Linked DNA regions of Homo sapiens: region 2 is linked to region 1. Evidence: promoter capture Hi-C in human tissues and cell types (Jung and others, 2019). All regions are on one chromosome and are shown on one strand. Each heading gives the region's core, a stretch centred on a gene start or on the middle of the fragment in contact. The rest is flanking DNA. Distances are from core to core; before and after follow the strand shown. Region 1 holds the start of TAS2R10 (taste 2 receptor member 10). Region 2 has its middle 13 kb from the start of TAS2R7.

Region 1 (4,948 bases), core at 1,144-3,643:
AAAGTGGAAAACTGAAGACAACTTAAACGTAAACGATATGATAAACACTAAGTATATTATTGTATATTTGCAAGGGGAGTTATTATGTACCCCTTAAAAAGATTATTACAAATAATTTTTGAAAACATGGGAAAATGAATAAATTCTACATAATCAACATAATCTATACAGAGAACATAGTTCTTTATACAATATAATTTCAAATGAGCCAACCTGGTATATTTGGTTGAAATAGGCAGCAGCATTAGGTTTTTTTTTCTGTTATCTCTTAACTATCTGTACATTCTAAACACAATAGTTTAAAAATATAAAAATATTGATTTGGAAACCTGACATAGAAAATTAATTAAGTCCTTATATTTGGAAATATTCCACTCATTAGGCCATAAGTATGAGATCAAGGCACTTTCGGAAGTTGCCAAAATAAGTCACTGAGTTTATAACCTGGGTTGGACATAAAAGTTAACTTTAAAACTCAAAATTTGAAACGTTTCTGTGAGTGCAAGTTTGTGTATATGAATGTGTGTGTGTGCATGTTTATGTGTGTGTGTGTATGAAGCCTGAAGACAGAACATTTCATATTTCACCCAGATTCTATCCTGTGTTCATCTTGTGTCCTTTGGTCAGGGACTGTGTTGAATCTTGCAGCCTTTGGATCGATGCTTCTAGAAAAATCTTTACTCAACTTTAATTGGTTCATAACCTGCCTTATCTCAAATCACTGATTTTGAAGAGCATATTTATTTCATCAGTGTTTTGATCCCATATCCCTCAACTAGACCCTTGTTTCCCTAACTATATTTCACAGAACTACATCTACTCCTCTGACTACTTGCTACACATCGTACACCAGTAAAAAAGGATGTTAGATTCTAAAAAATGAAAAAAAAACCTTTAAATAATTAAAATAGCATTCTGTAAAGAAGTACCACCATCTATCCTCACTTCCATGTTCTAAATGTCAAGATTGATCTAATTTTCTTTCTTTCTTTTTTTTCCTTTGGGTTTTCTGGGAGAATGGGTGTCCTTGCTTCAGAAAAGTCAGGTAAAGCACAACAAGAAGTTTTATTTTAGAGCTTATTCTCACCGTTATAATCTTTACAGCGAATAGTCTCCAGGCTGATGGTCTTCCTCTAGGAAGTTTGTAGGAAGAAGTTGCAGGGTGGGGAAGCTGACTAAGCCACTGAATTTGCATGTGAGATTAAAATCTCCTCAAAGACTGAGATTCCCTGAAACATAGTCAAAACAATTATGGAAGATTTCAGTGATCTTTAATGACACAGTTAAAAAGACAATGCAAGAATGCAGTGCAATGAAACAGATCTTCAAGGATTTATTCACTGGATTCCTTTCGTGGAACATCCATCTCTTCCCAAGGTGTCTATGTGACTCTGAGATTTTTCCTTTTCTCACAGCACTTCAATTGCTGCAGTACCCTCAAAGAGGCTTGCTTTAGCTTGCTGTTTCCTAGAATTAAGATAAATGAGTGACCCCAGGGATAGATGGCTGTGGTTGTCATTCCAAACATAAGCAGCAGTTTGTTTTCTCGCACAGTAAAACATGATATTTCTATGGCCATGCCTATAAAATACAAGATAAAGAGGATGATGAAAGATATCAAAACTTTCATTGCCTTCACATGAGCTTCTGTGTTGGAGTCTCTCAATCCTGTCACATTCGATTGCATCTGCCTGTTGTGTCTCCAAAGGGAAATGATTAAAAAAATACATGTAATTAGGGATAGTGTAAAGAAGAAAATGACTCCCAGATTTAGCAAAATCTGTTTAATAAAGTATTCACTTTTATACATGTTGAGATCCCAGACTGTGTCATTCTTCGTTTTATAATCATTAAGAATCTTCGCAATGTATGCAAAATTAAGTAACGATGAAATAAGTAAGAATACTATCATGAAGGGAAGAACCATATTTGTTCTGCTCTTCAACCAGAGAAATATGTAGTTGGAAAAATTTGCTATCTTCAGGAAATAGAAGATGCTGAGGCTGGTGGCAAACCACATACTTGATTGATTACCAATTACCCAAAAGTAACTAATATATTCAATTAGGTTACCGGAGGCATATATATTTGGAGAGAATATCTGTATAAATCCATCTGTAATTATTATCCATATCAGAAAAATTCTTGAAATAGCTAAGCCGGTGAGAATAAAGCCAATCGTAGATAACTTATTCTTGGCACAGTCAATGCAGTTTACAAGTCCAATAAATCCATTCCCCAAAACCCCAAACACTGACTCACTAACTACAACAAAAATGAAGATGCCTTCCACTACACGTAGCATATCTGCTAATTCTTAATATTGCTTCTGTTACATCTATCTTAGATTACCTGCTGCAGAATGAGGCATATATTGGCTGCTCGACGGAAGTGTGACTTTCTTCTCTTTCATTATATAAAGACTTGAAATTGCCCCAGTAATGGCTTGAGATGGAATCAGAAATTTCTTAATGAAGACCTTTCCAAATATGTCTACAAAACATAGCTAGTCTGGAGAATGTATGTTCAGACTGAATGCCTATCTATAATTTGTTAAAATGCAAATGAAAGTTTCTGTTTCATGGATTTTACATGTCCTCCTGAGACTATTTTGCATTTAATAAATTGAATTGTGGAGGAGGAGTGCCAAACATATACCTATAGAATGTAATGCAAAACAGAAACAAAAATTTTGACTTTATCTTTTAAAATATCAAATCATTATTTATGTCATTTATAATCAATTTATATATGTACAGAAAATACTATATAGAAATGAAAAACAAATTTAGCCACTGTAGATACTTACTCTAAATGATCGATTTAATTTTTAATTAAAATTTAAGCTCAACTCTAGGTATGACAAGTTTCACAAATATGTCACAAATCTGTTGCTGTTGTTTTATACTTATGGTTATTACACCCTTGAATGCAGAAGATTATGTTGACTACCCTTGACATGAAAGGCTCTTAGGAATAATCTCTTCATTTAACACATTACTGTTTGCTGGCACCCATTCATTTATCCAACAAGTATTTACTGAATGTCTAGATACAACAAGCTCTCTTTTGATCTTTGAGGGAATATAGTGGTAGACAGAATTTCAAAACTTGTGTGATTTATGGAGTGTATATTCTAATGAGGGAGGTGGGAAACAATTAAGTAAATCAACATACTGATCTAAGAATTAAAAGTGAAATTAAAAGTGAAATCTAACATTTATTGAGCTTTTATTATATTCCTAGCGCTATGTTAAGTATCTTTTTCTCATCTTAATTTCACAAGCCTTCAATCCTTTAAAAGAGGGGCTATTTTTGTATTTACATTAAATATGAATAAACTAAGCTTTGGAGAAAAGAAGACCTTCTCTCACTTATCCTGGCATGACTACCATAAATAAAATTGCACAATGATTTCAAAATGAAGTTAAATTAAGCTTAGGAATAGACTACAAATGATAGCAAAACAAAACAAACCAACCAAAAGCAAGTAGAAAACTTAAATTCTCATGGGCTGCACATACTGAAATTGACAGATAAGAATATGTATAGATAAATTAGCTAATGTATACACTGTTTACAAAAAACAAGATGCAATTTCAGAGAAGAGCAGCAAGAGACTGTTAGAAAGAAATTGGAACATTTGGGGAAAAAACTTCTAGAAATGGAGAATATAATTATATAAAATGTAAATGAACTAAATACTCCAAGTAAAAAATTAATAGTAACAAAGAAGAATTTAAAACTCTGACTGTATACTGCTTACAAGAAACACAATTTAAATATAGAAAAGGAAAACTTTAAAGTAAAATTATGGAAAAATAAGCCATGCAAACATCATCCAAAAGAAATCTGGCATAATTATAACAATATTCTATAAAGCAGACTTTAAGGTAAGAAGCAGCATTAGAGAAGAAATGGGGAGTGTACTTTATAGTGATAAAAATGCTCAAATCTACAGAAAGGTAGGGTAATCCCAAAAATTTATGAACCAAATAATCTACCAAACATTTACAGAAAAGGAAAAATAAGACAAATCTACAATCACAATGAAAGACTGTAAAATACATAACTCAATAACTCATCTTAGAAACACCAAAAATCAATAGATGGAAAATACATGAAAAAACAATTGACAAACTTGTGTTCAACGGTAAAATAATTCATATTCTTTTCAAGTGCACATAGACTATTTTTACCAAGACTGATCATGAATCCAAAAGAATATCTCACAAGTGTTGAATGTTCTCTGAATTCAAAGGAATAAAATGAAGTTCAATAATAAAAAGATAACTAGAGAAAGAAACAATTTACTAAGACAAAAAACCTGTAAATACTCTTGAGTCAAAGAAGAAATAACAAAAATTACAAAAATATTTTTAAGTAAATAATACAGGTTGTGTATCCCTTATCTGAAATGTGTGAGACCAGAGAGCTTTGGATTTCGGATTTTTTTTTCTTTTTTTTTAAGTTTTGGAACATTTGCATCATACTGATTAAGCATCTCGAATTCAAAAATTTGAAATCCAAAATGTTCCAATGAGCATATCCTTTGAGCGTCATGTCAGCGCTCAAAGAGTTTCAGATTTTGGAGCATTTCAAATTTCAGATTTTTGGATTAGGGATACTCAACGTGTAATAAAGAAATGACCTATTAAAATTTACATAATCCAATTAAAGCCATTCTTTGAAGGAAATTTGTAGCCTTGAATGCATCTTTTAGAAAGGCAGGGTAAAAACAGATGAATTTTGTTTTCATCTCAAGAAGCTAGAAAGCTAAGAGTGAAAGAAAATAGAAGTCAAGAAATTATAGTAACAGCAGAAATCACCGATAGAAAAGAATTAGGTACAGTAATATACTAATGTTGGTCAAAAGAAAATACAAATTACTACAGTCCTTAGAGATATCAGAAATATGGCCTGGGTGTGGTAGCTAATGCCTGTCATT
Region 2 (5,299 bases), core at 1,698-4,197, 36 kb before region 1:
GATATTAATTCTTAATCAGATACATGGTTTGCAAATATTTTATCCCTTTCTGCAGGCTGTTTCCTTCACTTTGTTGATTATTTTCCTTTGCTGTGCAGAAGTCTTTATTTTGATGTAGGCTCACTTCCTTATTTTTGCTTTTGTCATCTGTGTTTTTGGGATCATATCCAAAAAATCATTGCCCAGACCAATGTCAAGAAGTTTTGTTCTATGTTTTTTTTTTTTTGTTTTTTTTTTTGAGACAGAGTCTTGCTCTGTCACCCAGGCTAGAGTGCAGTGGTGCGATCTCAGCTCACTGCAACCTCTATCTCTTGGGTTCATGCAATTCTTCTGCCTCAGCCTCCCGAGTAACTGGGACTACAGGTGTGTGCCACCACACTAGGCTAATTTTTGTATTTTTAGTAGAGACCAAGTTTCACCATGTTGGCCAGGCTGGTCTTCAACTCCTGACCCTGTGATCCACTTACCTCGGCCTTCCAAAGTGCTGGGATTATAGGCATGAGCCACCGCGCCCAGCCTCTATGTTTTTTTTAAAAGTAGGGTTACAGTTTCTGATCTCACCTTTAGTTCATTTTGAGTGCATTTTTATAGATGGTGTGAGATAAGTGTTTACTTTCATTCTTCCACATGTGGATATCCAGTTCTCCCAACAGCATTTATTGAAGAGACTATCCTTTTCCCCATTGTGTGTTCTTGAAATCCTTGTCAAAGATTAGTTGAATATAAATGCATGAATTTCTTTCTGGATTCTATTCTGTCCCATTAGTCTATATGCTTGTTATTATGCCAGCACCATAATGTTTTGATTACTGCTGCTTTGTAATAGAGATAAATATAATCTATACCTCAATTTATTTCTTACAACATTGGAATGATAATAGTACCTATTTTGCAAGGTTGTCAGGATTAGATTAAATAATAAGATGGCTAAAAGGGCTTACACAATACTTTGGGCATATATTGTCAGTCTCAAGTTTGGGCATATGAATATTAAAATCAAGATCATGACTCATTAATTCTAAAGAGCAGGGGGTGAAGGTAAAAGTTACATTTGGAAGAAGGCTTTAGGGAGTAAAATGAAGGTCAATTATCAGTGAAAGCAGGTAAAGGTCAAAGCCTCATAGAGCCATGTGGAATTAAAGGCTAAAACAATTTAATTATTGGATGATAGAAAGGAAGGTGTCAAGTGTTTACTGGAGCAAAAACTAGACTTCAAGTGATGCTTAAAGGCCAAGATCTGAACCTGGCAGAAGCAAATCAGGAAGTGGGAAGTTAAGACTTAAGGCAAATTGCAGGGTAGTTCTTTTTCATTTTATTAGACTACAGCTTGCTGGCTAGGGTCTTCATTTTTAACAGTATTTTAAAAATGTTAAAACTTATCATTAATGTTTAAACAACATAGGAGCATAAACAGAAAAAGTCTTACTGACTTCCACCACAATTTCATTTCCAGAAATACATCACTAATAACATTTTTGTCTGTAATTTGAAATATTTTCTGAACACAAATCTGTCTCATATATATATGCATATATTAGGTTGGTGCAAAAGTAAGTGATGGCAAAACTGCACTTAGTTTTACACCAATTTATATTAATGAAAATGAAAGAAAAATGGTCACTGCTATTAATAAAAATGAAAATGAACACACTACTGCTACATTCAACAAAATGCTGAGTGAAAAAATCATTATATATATGTGTATACATATTCCTTTTATGTAGAAATGGGATCATGCTAATCTTTGTTTTTATTTAATAATATAGTTAGGATATAATTCCATATGCATGCCACACATTTATATCTCCTGAATTCTTTTTAATAACTGAATTATATATTTTTTGTATTGGTGATCTATAAGTTATTTAACAAATTTGATGAACATTTATATTGTTACCAGTATTTTGCTATTATAAGCAGTGCTGCAATAAAATTTCTTATTCATTTATTTACCTATTATGCAATAATAGTTGCAGGATAAATTCTAAGACTGAGATTTCTGGATAAAACACCAGGCACACTTTACATGTTGATAGTTTGTACAACTGGTCTTCCAAAAATTGCATCAATTTGAACTCCCCAAAGGTATAAGAGAATGGCTGCTTCCTATATTCTTACTAACAAAGTTTTAAACAAATTATATAGTGTACACAAATGTATATCATGTAATTAATAATTTTTAAGTAAATATTGTTAAAATGTAATATACCTCTAGAAAAATGTACAAATTATAACTATGCAGATTTACAGATATTTATACAGCAAACACATCTATGTAATGCAGTCCAGCTCACTAAGTCATACACGAATATTTTACATTATATTATAACACTCCAAAGGAATCCCTTGTACTGTTTCTCAGATACTACTCTCCACTGCCTGTACACATATCTTTCATGTTGATTAGTTTTACTGTTTCAAACTTTATGTAAAGTGTAACAATATAATATTTACTCTTCCCAGTTCAGTTTCTTTCACTCAGCATTTTCTATGAGTATGGTAGGAGTAGTGTTATTTTCATTGCTATATAATATTCCATTCCATGACTATACTACAATTTACTCATCTATTTTCCTGCTGACAGGCATATGAGTTATTTCTAATTTGGGCTATTTCAAATCATACTGTTAATAATCATACACATTTTTTAGTGCACATATCTTACATTACTGTTGTGTCTATTTCTGGAACAAAAATTGCTAGGTCATAGAATATGGGCATGTTTGGCTTTAGTACCTACTGCCAAATCTTTTTCCAAGTTGTTTGTATTAATTGATACTTTTCACCAAATACGTCACCCCTGCTGATTTCACATTTAGAAAATGGCATCTCCTAGCTTTAGTGTACAATTCCTTAACTTTATGTGTCATATATTATTGTTTTTTATGTTTATTAGGCAAGCCTGAATTTTATTTCCTTGTGAATAACTGTACCCACCTCTCTCTACTACCTGGATACTTCTATAAAATAAAATACAGTCATGCATTGTTTAATGATGGCAATACACCTGAAAAATGTGTTGTTAGGTGATTTTATCATTGTGTGAACATGATTTAGTGTACTCACAAAAACCTAGGTGGCATAGCCTACTACACACCTAGGCTATATGGTGCAGCCTATTGCTCCTAGACTACAAACTTGTACAGCATGTCACTGCACTGAAAACTGTAGGCACTTGTAACAGAGTTGTATTTGTGCATACTAAGCATAGAAAAGGTATAGTAAAAATATAGTATAAAAGATTAAAAAACAATACACCTATATAGAGAACTGTATTAGTGTGCTCTCACATTGCTAATAAAGACATACCTGAGACTGGGTAATTTATAAAGAAAAAGAGATTCAATAGACTCACAGTTTCACATGGCTAGGGAGGCCTCACAATCAAGGTGGAAGGTAAAGGAGGAGCAGAGACGTCTCTTACATGACGGCAGGCAAGAGAAGTGCCGAGCAAAAGGGGGAAAAGCTTCATATAAAACTATCGGATCTTGTGAGAACTCGCTCATTATCACGAGAGCAGCATAAGGGTAACTGCCCCAGTGATTCAATTACCTCCACCTGAGCCTGCCCTTAACACATGGGGATTATTACAATTCGAAGTAAGATGTGGGTGGGGACACAGCCAAACCATATCATCCCGCCCCCTCCCAAATCTCATGTCCTCACATTTCAAAACCAATCATACCTTCCCAGCAGTCCCCCAAAGTCTTAAGTCATTTCAGCATTCACTCAAAAGTCAACAGTTTAAAGTCTCATCTGAGACAAGGCAAGTCTCTTCCACCTAGGAACCTGTAAAATTAAAAGCAATTTAGTTACTTTCCAGATACAGTGGCAGTACAGGCATTGGGTAAATACACCCATTCCAAATGGGAGAAATTGCCCACAGCATGGGGCTACAGGCCCCATGCAGGTCCAAAATCCAATGGGGCAGTCAAATCTTAAAGCTCCAAAATGATCTCTTTTGATTCCATGTCTCACATCTAGGTTATGCTGATGCAAAAGGTGGGCTGCCACAGCCCTGGGCAGCTCCGCCTCTGTGGGTTTGCAAGGTACAACCTCCCTCTTGACTGCTTTCACAGGCTGGTGTTGAGTGTCTGCAGTTTTTCCAGGTACATGGTGCAAGTTGTTGGTGGATCTACCATTTTGGGGTGTAGAGGATGGTGACCCTCTTCTCACAGCTCCACTAGGCAGTGCCCAAGTGGGGACTCTGTGTGAGGTCTCCAACCCCACATTTCCCTTCCACACTGCCTTAGCAGAAGTTCTCCATGAGGGCCCAGCCCCTGCAGCACACCTCTGCCTGGACATCCACGCATTTCCACACATTCTCTGAAATCTAGGTGGAGGTTCCCAAACCTCAATTATTGACTTCTGTGCACCTGCAGACTCAACACCACATGGAAGCTGCCAAAACTTGGGGCTTGTACCCCCTGAAGCCATGACCTGAGCTGTACCTTGGCCCCTTTTAGCCATGGCTGGAGCAGCTGGGATGCAGGGCACTAAGTCCCTAGGCTGCACACAACAGGGCGGCCCTGGGGCCAGCCCCTGAAACCATTTTTTTCCTCCTAGGCCTCTGGGCCTGAGATGGGAGGGGCTGCTGCAAAGGTCTCTGACATGCCCCGAAGACGTTTTCCCCATTGTCTTGGTGATTAACATTGGGCTTCTCATTACTTACGCAAATTTCTGTAGCAGGCTTGAATTTCTTCCCAGAAAATGGGTTTTTCTTTTTTACTGCATTGTCAGGCTACAAATTTCCCAAACTTTTATTTTCTGCTTCCTCTTGAACCATTTTGCCACTTAAAAATTTCTTCTTCCAGATACCCTTAATCATCTCTCTCAAAGTTCCACAGAACTCTATTGCAGAGGCAAAATGCCACCAGTCTCTTCGCATAGCAAGAGTGACCTTTACTTCAGTTCCCAAAAGTTCCTCATCTTCATCTGAGACCACCTCAACCCGGACCTTATTGTTCATATCGCTATCAGCATTTTGGTCAAAGCCATTCAACCAGTCTCTAGGAAGTTCCAAACTCTCCCACATCTTTTTGTCTTCTGAGTACTCCAAACCTCTAGGAAGTTCCAAACTTTGTCACATTTTCCTGTCTTCTTCTGAGCCCTCCAAACTGTTCCAACCTCTGCCTGTTACCCATTTCCAAAGTTGCTTCCACATTTTCGGTATCTTTACAGCAGTGCCCCACGACCTGGTACCAATTTATTATATTAGTCTGTTCTCACGTTGCTAATAGACATGCCTGTGACTGGGTAATTTATAAGGAAAAAGAAGTTTAATGGACTCACAGTTTCA

What was found. Contacts are between HindIII fragments. The study calls those that stand out against the background at their distance.
Region 2: a contact is called between a fragment that was not itself captured here and the fragment with the promoter of TAS2R10 in region 1, in 2 of the 25 tissues and cell types used here (psoas muscle and small bowel).

Annotation. Positions count from the first base shown.
Region 1 is chr12:10,823,965-10,828,912 of GRCh38, forward strand. TAS2R10 (taste 2 receptor member 10) reads right to left here and starts at 2,394. Exons shown (of 1, transcript NM_023921.2): 1 at 1,255-2,394. The coding sequence starts at 2,305. The coding sequence ends at 1,382. The HindIII fragment of the contact is 9,660 bases long and covers 1-3,391 here.
Region 2 is chr12:10,787,387-10,792,685 of GRCh38, forward strand. No RefSeq gene overlaps it. Among named protein-coding and RNA genes, the nearest start is that of TAS2R7, 13 kb to the right of the region's middle. The HindIII fragment of the contact is 8,880 bases long and covers 1-5,299 here.